Linked DNA regions of Homo sapiens: all the other regions are linked to region 1. Evidence: promoter capture Hi-C in 16 types of primary human blood cells and fetal thymus (Javierre and others, 2016). All regions are on one chromosome and are shown on one strand. Each heading gives the region's core, a stretch centred on a gene start or on the middle of the fragment in contact. The rest is flanking DNA. Distances are from core to core; before and after follow the strand shown. Region 1 holds the start of PLN (phospholamban). Region 2 has its middle 100 kb from the start of ASF1A. Region 3 has its middle 220 kb from the start of PLN. Region 4 has its middle 120 kb from the start of CEP85L.

Region 1 (2,998 bases), core at 338-2,837:
TACTGTAAACCTCGTTAGGCTTCTCGGTTTTGTATTATCAATCATCATTGGTAACTGATAGTACTGAGAGATCCTCATTATGTAAGGATTGAAAGAAAAATGGTTGTAGCACTGAGAAAAGTATCAAACATTATTCTGCAATTTCCTTAACTTGGGTTTTACTTTTAAGTTGTAAATTTTCCCTTGGCAATGTTCACAGGATATCTTTGCTAAAATATTATTTTTCAGTTAGTTTTAAGCTGACTCTTTAAATATCAAATGATTTGCTCTAGAGATGGATTTTCTTTCTTTGGAAGAAGCCAAGATCATTTCCATTTAAGGGCATGTAAGCAGCTGCTGCTACACATTTTAGTTACCCATAAGAAAGTGAAGTGGGCTAAGTTCACTCTGTCATAAGCATTTAAAAAATTAAAAATTACAAGTACCTCCTCTAAAATTAAAGAAGAGATTTAAGAATTAATATTTTCGAGTGTGGTGACTTAAGTAAATCTAACATCTAAGACAACAAATTAGATAAACAGAGAAGAGGAGAATGATGCCCGGCTTTACAAAAAAATTATTTCCCCAGTTCTACTGTAAGATAAACTGTTCTAGGAAGTTCAAAATATCATCTCACTTACTAGCATCTCATTTTTATAGTAATTTTCAGGAAAGCAACTGCTAGATTAAATGAGGCACATCCTTTCAAAAACATTACAAAACTTAAATTTCAACACATCAAACCTATAAAGCCTCATTAACTGAGATGTAACTGATTTGGAATCTGTAATTATTTCTTTTTTGCCATAAAGTTGCCCTTAATACTGCATCAGTTTATTAAAAATTTGGTAAGATTGTGTAATAATTTAATGCAATTGTTTTTAAAAAATCTTAAATACTTAAAGTAGCATATTGCTATTTTGGGGGTGTTGTATGTATCAGTTTAAATATAAGTATTACTATTCACAAATATATTGTTAAACTGCTAATTGAAGAAAACACAAATGAATTAAATACATTTATTAGTTCTTTAACTGTAAGATAAAAATAATTTTTTAAAACAAAAAGCAATTAGCCTGATTTTCTCATACTCCTTCTCCCATACACACAAGAACAAGAACAAAATAAGAAAACAGGTATAAAATTTTATTGTGTAAAAATATTTCACTTTCACTAAAAGCTAACATTATGAAGACACGTATTAAAGCAACAGCAGCAAGAATTCAATGAAAGTTGTTTTGCTTATACCTGTGTTTATTTTTCTCATAATTAAAATTCCTGCAGTAACTATTTTAGCTCTTCAACATCTTCACCATTAATATTCAATTATCTCTAAGCCTGAAGATGCATGAATCTTTAACAAAAGCTTTCCACCACCTCAAGTTTACTTATTTTTTTCATTTATCTACCATATACTGTTTTAAATTAAAAACAAAAGATGAAGCACAAAGTGTTAATGACTTTTCCATACCTAAAGTAAGAAGTTCTAAAGTTTGGTTGTGATAAGACTGAGACTGTGGCTAACCAATCGAAACTTCAGAATTCCTATGTGACATCATAAGACCTCCCTAGAACACTTTTTCTCCTCCACCTACTGCAACTGTTCCCATAAACTGGGTGACAGAGTCAGAAAACTCCCCAGCTAAACACCCGTAAGACTTCATACAACACAATACTCTATACTGTGATGATCACAGCTGCCAAGGTAAGAAACAGATTTCGCTGACTTTGGTAATTCTTACTTTCTATAATTCTTAATTCCTATAATTTCTATAATCTGAACTTTTAAAATGAGTTAATTTTATGAATATCAGTTCAATCTTAGGCAATAAAATGACATGACAAAGTGCTTAAATTTATAAATGCTTATCCATTTAGTGACAGGAAAAATGAGACAACTTTGAAATGAAAAAGGTCATATTCATCTTTGATCCTGGTTACTGGTTTGTCATTTAAATTTATCTTTCACTTTTATTTTGCTTTTCAAATGTGAATTTCTGCCAATTAAAAAATCTTCCAATTATGTTACCATATTTGGTAGTAGTGGTTAATTTCTCCATGCAAAAACAATGACTTAATTTTGTTATTTATTGCTCTGCTGAGAAACAGTGCAGAACTGAGCTATTTACATCTGAACTAATATGAATAGTCATTTGACTACAACATGCACATTATCAGCATGCCTATTCCAATATTATCATAATTTCATACAGTGAATAATGAAATGGAGTTTCAGAATATATAATACAAGCTACTTTTAAAGTGCCCTTGAGGATGTTTCCCCTCTAAAGTCCAGTCAACTTTTAACAAACATTTCTAAAAAAATTCCATGCTATTAATAAATTGAGTTACTGATATTAAATTCAATATTGTATCATAAAGAAGTTTAGAAATTTTAAAACAATGTTCACAAACACAAAAAATCTGACGTTAGAGAATAATTTGATACTTTAAAAAGTTATTTTGACACACGAATATTCTTAACTATCTTATTTTCACACAAATTTGATTAAATGGATTTCTGCCTATTAATGCCTATAGTTTTGTCAAGTTATTATCCTCCAGTGGTACTCCATTTCCTCTCTCGGATTTAGAAAGAAAGGAAAAAATAAAATAAATGCCAGGAATGGAGATGCCACAATCAATTTTATGACTTCTGTTTGAATTCTACCCTATTCTTTATGTTACAATCCTCAATTTAGTAAATGAAACGTTTCCTCATTCTTAGATCTCTGTCAGGGCATACAGAAAATTACATATATTTTATTTATTTTGATTTTCATATTTCATATATATGTTAAAATAAAATTTATCTCTAAAATTCTCAATTCCTATGACAAATGTTAATTCTATTGCTCACTACAAATAAGAACTTTGTAACTCTGTAAGCAGCTTTCCTTAAGACATAAAAAAACATAATTTTTGTCTACCACTGAGGTATCCTAATTGTGTCTCCATATCTCTATACTCATATTTTTCCTTTGATAGTACATAAAAGTCATTCAGTGTAGGTGTCTTA
Region 2 (2,998 bases), core at 131-2,630, 240 kb after region 1:
TTCACCACCTTGCATGTAGAAGGTACTAAACACACGAGTTGAAATTTATTTAAAAAAAAATGCTGGACATTGTTTTTCCCTGGAATACATGATCACACTTTTTAAGACTCTCTGAATTGCCTATAATTACCGGAAGGCCTCATGTTTCACACTAATAATTCCAGCATTAGTGGGAAGCTCAGAAGACATAAGGAAAGACAGAATTCATTATTAATGAAAGTACTGCCGCCCTCGGAGGAAACATGTGTGTCTAATGCCCAACTGACTTCATCTTTTCGTCAATAAGTCCATGCTCTCTCATCATTGATGGCATCTATTGGTCGGCTCACTGGAGAGGACCACAGCTAATTAACAAACACACTTTGGCCTTAATGAAGCTGCTGTTTCCGGTCTATGATACTACTTCAAGGGTACTACATCAATATAAATTCAGACTTTTCCTGCTTTCTTGATTTTACTCTTATTATAGAACTAAATTCCGATTATTTCTTTTAAAAGATGATTCAATTAAGCTCCCCATATCTAATGAAATGCACACATTCTCACATATTTTATATTTTAACATGAGATGAATTCACTTAAAAGAGTAATTTGTTTTTTGCCTCCTCCTCCTGCTTCTTCTTAACTGGGGGTCTGTGAATGAATTCGTTTTCTAGGCCTGCCATAATAAAGTACTACAGCCTGGGAAGCTTCACCTCCAGAAATTCATTTTCTCACGGGCTGGGACGCTAGAAGTCTGAGATCAAGGTGTTGGCAGGGATCACTCCTTTTGAGGGCTGCGAGGGAAAGAGCTGCTCTAGGCCCCTCGCCTTGGCTTACAATTGCTGTCTTCTTCCTGTGTCTTCGCATTGTGTATTAGTCTGTTCTCACATGCCTAATAAAGACATACCCAAGACTGGGTGATTATAAAGGAAAGAGGTTTAATTGACTCACAGTTTCACATTGCTGGGGAGGCCTCACAATCACGGCAGAGGGCAAGGAGGAGCAAGTTACATCTTACTTGGCAGCAGGGAACAGAGAACTTGTGCAGGGGAGCTCCTCTTTATAAAACCATCACATCTCATAAGACTTATTCACCATCAAGAGAACAGCACAGGAAAGACCGCCCCCATGATTCAATTACCTCCCACTGGGTCCATCCCACATCACATGGGAATTGTGGGAGCTACAGTTCAAGGTGAGATTTGGGTGGGGACACAGCCAAACCATACCACATAGTCTTTCCTCTGTAGGTGTCTGTGCCAAATCTCCTATTCTCATAAAGACACCAGTCATATTAGATCAGGGCCCACCCTAATGACCTCACTTTAATTCCTCTGTAAAGACCCTATCTCCAAATGCAGTCACATTCTGAGGTACTGGGGGTTAGGACTTCAATGTATTAATTTAGGGAAGTGGCGGGGAAGGAGGGAGTTGTTAGACCATTCTTGCATTGCTATAAAGGAATACATGAGGCTGGGTAATTTATAAAGAAAAGAGAGTTAATTGGCTCACAGTTCTGCGGGCTGTTTAGGAAGCATGGCACAGGCATCTGCTTGGCTTCTGGGGAAGCCTCAGGGAGCTTTCATTCATGGCAGAGGTGAAGCAGCATGCCACATGGGGAGAGCAAGGGGAGGGAGGAGCCACACGCTTTTCAACAATCAGATCTCATGATAACTCACCATCGTGGGGACAGCACCAAGCCACAAGGAATCTGCCCCCATGACCCAAACACCTTCCACCAGGCCCCACCTCCAACACTGGGGATTACAATCCAACATGAGATCTGGGTGGGACAAACATCCCAACTATAGCAGGGGGACAAAATTCATTGCATAATGATGAAGAGGAGGTGAGATTTCCAAGGAGAGACAATGGAATGCATCGTTAGGGGCACCTTCTCTGGAGTCAGATCATATGTGTCAGACCCTAACCCGCTTCTCACCTATGTAATCTTGGGCAAGTTTTCTTTTCTGCCCTTCGGTTCCCCTTTCTTTAAAATGGGTTCATAATGATACCTTCTGCAGGGAGCTTTTGTGAAGATCAAATAAATGCTTTTTACACGAAAGCCCTCTGTTTATTACAATAATTTCAAGCTTTTCCCTTAAAATGCTTAAAGGGTGCTTATGCATTCCCCTCATAAGGGAAGTGAATAGTGTGTTGACACGCCATAAAAATGTAAAACGTATCTTTATATGTGTGGTGAGGTGAATTGAGATGTCTATTTTAAAATTGTATTTTATAATCACAATTTTCTTTTTTTCTTTTTTGGTGAGACAGAGATTTACTCTTGTTGCCCAGGCTGGAGTGCAATGGCGTGATCTCGGCTCACCGCATCCTCTGCCTCCCAGTTTCAAGCGATTCTCCTGCCTCAGCCTCCCAAGTAGCTGGGATTACAGGCATGTGTCACCAAGCCCGGCTAATTTTGTATTTTTAGTAGAGACAGGGTTTCACCATGTTGCCCAGGCTGATCTTGAACTCCTGACCTCAGGTAATCCGCCCGCCTCGGCCTCCCAAAGTGTTGGGATTACAGGTGTGAGCCATTGCGCCCGGCCCATAATTTTCTTTTATACTCAAAACTTATAATACCCCTTGTGTTAGGGCATGAAATGGATTGTGGGCCATACGTGGCAGATTTCAGTCGAGACTCTACCCTGCCAGCCTTCTCAGCCAACCCCTACCTCTTCTCCCCCATCTGAACCAGAGGCAGCTTTCAATTGTGGGCCTAGTTCTTTCTGAGCAAACCTGGTCCAAGATCAGGTTCTCCAAATTCAGATGCCTGCCTTTATTTTTACAATGAAAACCTAATTCTGGACCAGCGTTATTCTGTACTGGTATATACTAGTAGCTGAGTATTTCTGGAGAAAATCTGATAATCATGTAGGCAGTTTCCATAAAGATATCACAGCATTTAGCCTCTCCTGAGCCCTCTGCACCACTGAATCTTTCTTCATATCCCTGGTCCACACCACATCCCAGACTCATAGGCAGCTCTTCCCAATCTCGACCTCTGCACACA
Region 3 (2,998 bases), core at 243-2,742, 220 kb before region 1:
CACACTTCCATTCCCTTCCCTGTTTTCTCTGTAGTACCTATCACTTTCTGACACAGTACATATTTTGTTTGTCTTTCTCCCCCAACCTGAATGTAAGTTTCCTTAGGGCAAGAATCTTGTCTCTTTTGTTCCCTCCTTTATCCCTAGCACATGAAAGAGTACCCAGGACGTCAAGGGATCTCAACAAACATCAATTGAATGAGTGGATGAATTCACGAATGAACAAATGAATGACATTCAAAAGCCCTGACCATGGCACACAAGGGCCAGCATGACAGAATCACCACCTTGTTCTCCAGCCTCACCTCCCATGTCTCTCTACTTTGCTTTTGCACCTCCGTGAAATTGGCTTTCTTTTAGTTCATTGAACACATCCTGCTTCTTCCTGCTCCAAGGCCATGGCACTTGTTTTCTCCCCTGCTGGAAGACTCTCCCTTCCTCTCCTTTTGCCTAGATAATTCCCACTCATCCTTGGGAGCTCAGGTTAAACATCACTTATTAGAGAAACCTTCCCTGGCTCCCAGGAGAGATGCAGGTCTAGTCCACTGGTGCATGCTTCCATGGCTTTCTGACTTCTTAGCTCTTGTTTCCCTTCTAAAGACTGCCTGGCCAGGGTAGCTCACACCTGAAATTGCAGCACTTTGGGAGGCCGAGGTGGGCAGATCACGAGGTCAGGAGTTTGAGACCAGCCTAGCCAACATGGTGAAACGCCATCTCTACTAAAAATACAAAAATTAGCCAGCTGTGGTGGCAGGCACCTATAATCCCAGCTACTCGGGAGGCTGAGGCAGGAGAATTGCTTGAACTCAGGACGCAGAGGTTGCAGTGAGCCGAGATCGCACCACTGCACTCCAGCCTAGGTGACAGAGCAAGACTCCGTCTAGAAAAAAAAAATATATATATGTATCTATATATAGACTGGCTAATGTCAGTATCCTCCCTCCCAACCCTGTGGAAAATGCAGCCCATTAGGCACAATCTGGCACAGTGTCTGACCTGGAGCAGACACCCAGCAAGCTTTGTTGAATGAAAAAGGAAGACATGTTAGACTTGTTCAGTCTACAAAGGTTAAAACTAGAACCAAGAACAGGAAGTTCAGGAAGACAAATTTCAGCTCAACATAAAGAAGGACTTCCTAAAAGTCACAGCTGACCCCAGTATGGGGTGGCCTGTCTCAGGTGGTGGAACATGCAGGAAGGAAGCTGATAGAAACCAAGAATCAGATGGGACTTTGGACCTGATCCATGGTTTCTACACTGAGTCTCAGGATGTGCGGACAGTCTTGAAGTCTGCCTTAAGGTTTTCTGGCACTGCAGATTTTGCCTCTCTCTGTCTTTAGAGAAAAGAATGTAAATTTCTGTGGAAGAGAAACTGTGGGCTTCAAAATTGAACACACAGTGTATCTTATTATACTTGTTTAATTATCCATATTCTCCACTAGAGTATAAACTCTGTAAGACTGGAAGGAACATGAGACAGTTGTTTTTGTCTGAAGCAACAGAAACAATTCTAACTATATTAAGGAAAAAGGGATTCATTGGAAAGTTTCTGACTCAGAGGTAGAATTTTGACCGCATTTATGCTCCTGGTACCACCTTAAATGTCTTTGAAAGACAAAACCTGGCACATAATCACTAGGAAGCATTTTTTTAAAAAAAACAAAAACAGATTATTTTAAAAATTATTTACCCCCTTCATAATATAGGGAGGTGAATGACTAACTTTTAACCAATAAACCCATGGCCATTTACTGAAATCTGGGCACAGAGAACAATCTATAGAGAAGAAGAAAATATTTCTATGTGAAAAATATGAAGTAAGATGATACTGTTGATGAAGACTATCTCTTAAAGAAATTACTCAGCCAGAACATCAAATTCTGATAAAAAGGAAAATCAGAAAACAATTCATCTTGGGCCTGGACAATGGACTCTATACTTACTTAAAAGTGAAATAACCCTTGAAATCAAGCTTGCAACTTATTTTTAAATAAAATGAATGCAAACATTAATAAGGAAGCTGCCTGAACATGATATAAAATATTCTTATTGAATAGATATTTCTAGATTCTCTTGAATGCAGCACAATGTACATTCTAGAAACAATAATGTCTGAAGCATTATGTTCTTTCGTGGTTGAAGCGTGGATGTTCTTTCATGATAAAGCTTCAGTTATTACAGTCCTGCCATAGTAGGCGTGCAATTCACTAAGTTGGGATTGAATCTTTTCCCTAAGTGATGAAGTCTTAAAAAAACAAACAAACAAACAAAACAAAAAACCAAAGAGACAGGATTTCCTAATAATATAAACTTTCCAGCACTATTGATGAAGAATAGTTGAGGGTTTGTTAGCTTAACTATCATATAAAATAAACACACTTTCATATTGAAAAATAAGGTTCTGTAAAAGAGTTAATAAAAATTCTTAAACACAAATTTTAAGAAGCATTTTCATTTCTTTTGTGACTCATGAGTGTTAGCCCCACTGTATTAGTCAGGGTTCTCTAGAGGGACAGAGCTGATAGGATATATATATATATATATAGGATGTGTATATATATATATGATGTGTGTATATATATATATAGGATGTATATATATATATAGGATGTGTATATATATATAGGATCTGTATATATATATATAAGTTTATTAAGTATTAACTCACACAATCACAAGGTCCCACAATAGGCCATCTGCAAACTGAGGAACAAGGAAGCCAATCCAAGTCCCAAAGCTGAAGAACTTGGAGTCTGATGTTCAAGGTTAGGAAGCATCCAGCATGGAAGAAAGAGGTAGGCTGGGAGGCTAGGCCAGTCTAGCCTTTTCACGTTTTTCTGCCTGCTTTATAGTCTGGCCATGCTGGCAGCTGATTAGATGGTGCCCACCCGGATTAAAGGTGGGTCTGCCTTTCCCAGCCCACTGACTCAAATGTTAATCTCCTTTGGCAACACCCTCACAGACACACCCAGGAACAATACTTTGCGTCCTTCAGTCCA
Region 4 (2,998 bases), core at 154-2,653, 220 kb after region 1:
AGAGATACCATTTGACCTAGCAATCCCATTACTGTGTATACCCAAAGGAATATAGATCATTGTACCAAAAAGACACATGAACTCGTATATTCATTGCTGTTCTATTCACAATAAAAAAGGCATGGAATCAACTAGGTGCCCATCAATAGTGGATTGGATAAAGAAAATGCGGTACATATACACCATGAAATACTATGCAGATGGAAAAAAGAATGAAATGATGTCCTTTGCAGGAACGTGGATGGAGCTGGAGGCCATTATCCTAAGCAAATTAACATAGGAACAGAAAACCAAATACTACATGTCCTCACTTGTAACTGGGAGTGAAACATTGAGCACACATGGACATAAACATGGGAACAATAGACACTGTGGACTATTAGAGGCACGAGGGAGGGAGAGGGGCGTGGATTGAAAAACTACTGTTGGGTGCTATGCTCATTACCTGGGTCCAATATCCCCATGTAACAGTCCTACACTGGTACCCCCCATATCTAAAATTAAAGCTGAAATTTTAAAACAAAAAAACAACCAAATTACCACAAATTCAGTAGCTTAAATCAACACTATTTATGTTATAGTTCTGGAGGTCAGAAGTCCACAATGGGGCAACAGTCTGGTTCCTTGTGAAGACTTCAGGGACAATCTGTTTCTCTGTCTTTTCTAGTTTCTAGAGGCCGCCTCTATCCCTTGGTTTATGTCCCCTTATCACGTCGACCTCTGTCTCTGTCATCACATCTCCTTCTCTGACTTGGGCCCTTCTGCCTTTCCTCTGTAAAGACCCTTGTGAATATATTAGGCCCATGCAGATAATTCAGGAAAAATCTCATCATCTCAAATTCCTTGATTTAATTGCATCTGCAAAGTTGCTTTTGCTATGCAAAGAAACATAGTCACAGGTTCTGGGAACTAAGATGTGGACATCCTTTAGGGGCCATTGTTCTGCCTCCCACACCTTATCTACTTGGTTATTTGTAAGTCTAGATAAGCTTCCCTGCTCTGGGGTCCTAACTGACTCAGTTTGCATCCTCCCTCTGTGTTCAACATAGTACATGGTAGGCACTCCGCACATATTATTGGAACTTACTAAAGAGCCCAGGTATGGGGTGAGGCGCTAGACTAGAATGATAGTGTTAGGGGGAAAGGAGGCTAGAGAGGACGTTTGTGGCATCTGAAGGAACCAGCGATAAGACCCTCTCTGTGCCAAGAATCAGTGATGAAAGACTGAGCTGACTGGAGGACTGTGTCCTGTCTCGATGACGGGGATGGGACTAGGAGCAGGCATGAACCAAGGTAGTTGAATGAAATGCTTTAGAAAGTACTTGCCCTCCTGATGTGCCTCATGTGTGCCTCAATGTGTAAAACCCATTTTACAAAAGATTGTAAAATGTTTTAAATAGGAGAATTTTGGTGAAATACTAGGCAACCACTGTATGATCCCACTTGGGAATATCCTATCCTAGGTGAACACATTCAGTAAGGCAACCAAGCAATTCCAAAGCTCTATGTTAGGCCAACAAGAAGGGGGCCAGCAGATTTTTAGATAAATGAGAACTGGCCAATCTGCAGACGCTCTCAGTTGAGAGTTCAAGAAGCAGAGGATCAAAGAAATAAAGTACTCATCCCCTGCCAGTGGTTGGAGCTGCTGGGAAGATAACCTTGCCCAGGCCCGGAGGTCCCAGAACTAGCAGCTCCGCTCAGCCTCTTCCATGGTGTTTAACTCCAACTATCTAGCAATTATTTGACAGGTAACATCCCTTAGAAAGGCTGATTCTAGTGTACTGATTGTATTCCTAGTTAAAAGGACCACACACCTTCAAAGCTTGGACCTGAAAAACACCATCCCTTGTATCAAGATGGTAGGAACCGGAAGGTTATGCCATATTTCAGTTCGACTGTGGCACCCTCGCCATAAGCATCTGCTGTGAGAGCTGATTGTCCACAGTGGGCCTGATAAAGTGACAGTGGAATATCCATAAGAATGGTCCAGGAGGCTGTTCAAGCTAAGGAATCAGAACGTAGGTGCATGGCAGGGCTGGAGATGGTGTTTTCAGAGCCATCAGAACATAGTGAATAAAGAAGGTGGGAACGCTCTAAGGAGGGAGAATCTACAGAGAAAAACAGATGAAGTTAGAGTGAAGAGAGATAATCTAGAAAGATAAAGGAGGCCAAACAAAGAGGTTGAGTGAGATGATAAGGAATATAACGTACAGAAACCAAACAAAAAGGTAGGTTCCGGTGGGAAGGATCAGATGTCACAATTCCCACTGGCGTCTTGCTGAACAGGGCTTTGATCACCCTGTCACCCTAAGATCCAGAGCATTCGCCTCCAGCTCCAAAGCCCTCTGGCCCTACAGCTAGAGTGAAGGGGCTCTTTGTTGCCGTCCCATCTACAGCCCCTCTCTGCCCCCGCACTCCCCATTGCACATAACTGCTGTGACGAGACTCCCTCTTGTATCTAGTTGCATAACTTTGGGTGCTGACTTATCCCAATGCCTGTGTGGTCTCTAGTGAGTCTGAGCGTTCAACTTTCTTTTCTTTCTTTTTTTTCCTTGATACATGATCTCACTCTGTCACCCAGGCTGGAGTGCAGTGGCATGACCACAGCTCACAGCATAGCAGCCTCAAACTCCCAGGCTCAAGTGATTCTTCCACCTCAGCCTCCTCAGTAGCAGGGACTACAGGCATGTGCCAGCATGCCCAGCTAAGTTTTCATTTTTTGTTAGAGACAGGGTCTCACCACCTTGCCCAGGTTGGTCTCAAACTCCTGGGCTCAAGCAATCCACCTGCCTCAGCCTCCCAAAGTGCTGGGATTACAGGCATGAGCCATCACACAGGCCTCCAACTTTCGATTCAGGGTTTCCAGTTTCAGGATTCCAGCAATCTGACTGCCTGGCCCTGAAGCCGACCACTGACCTTGGTATTCTCACTAAAGGCCAGCATTCTGCTCTTCCCATTTGGAAAAGAGCTTTCAGGCAAATGCTTTGAAGTTCCACCT

What was found. Contacts are between HindIII fragments. The CHiCAGO score rates a contact against its expected background, and 5 or more counts as called.
Region 2: a fragment that was not itself captured here is called in contact with the fragment with the promoter of PLN in region 1 in 3 of 17 cell types (activated CD4 T cells, naive B cells and total B cells); the score reaches 8.4 in activated CD4 T cells.
Region 3: a fragment that was not itself captured here is called in contact with the fragment with the promoter of PLN in region 1 in 1 of 17 cell types (endothelial precursors); the score reaches 5.1 in endothelial precursors.
Region 4: a fragment that was not itself captured here is called in contact with the fragment with the promoter of PLN in region 1 in 1 of 17 cell types (activated CD4 T cells); the score reaches 5.1 in activated CD4 T cells.

The regions. Positions count from the first base shown.
Region 1 is chr6:118,546,709-118,549,706 of GRCh38, forward strand. It overlaps PLN (phospholamban), which reads left to right and starts at 1,588. Exons shown (of 2, transcript NM_002667.5): 1 at 1,588-1,684. The region is part of intron 3 of CEP85L (centrosomal protein 85L); the gene reads right to left. The HindIII fragment of the contact is 6,726 bases long and covers 1,344-2,998 here.
Region 2 is chr6:118,790,777-118,793,774 of GRCh38, forward strand. No RefSeq gene overlaps it. Among named protein-coding and RNA genes, the nearest start is that of ASF1A, 100 kb to the right of the region's middle. The HindIII fragment of the contact is 1,386 bases long and covers 688-2,073 here.
Region 3 is chr6:118,327,480-118,330,477 of GRCh38, forward strand. No RefSeq gene overlaps it. Among named protein-coding and RNA genes, the nearest start is that of PLN, 220 kb to the right of the region's middle. The HindIII fragment of the contact is 954 bases long and covers 1,016-1,969 here.
Region 4 is chr6:118,765,676-118,768,673 of GRCh38, forward strand. No RefSeq gene overlaps it. Among named protein-coding and RNA genes, the nearest start is that of CEP85L, 120 kb to the left of the region's middle. The HindIII fragment of the contact is 833 bases long and covers 988-1,820 here.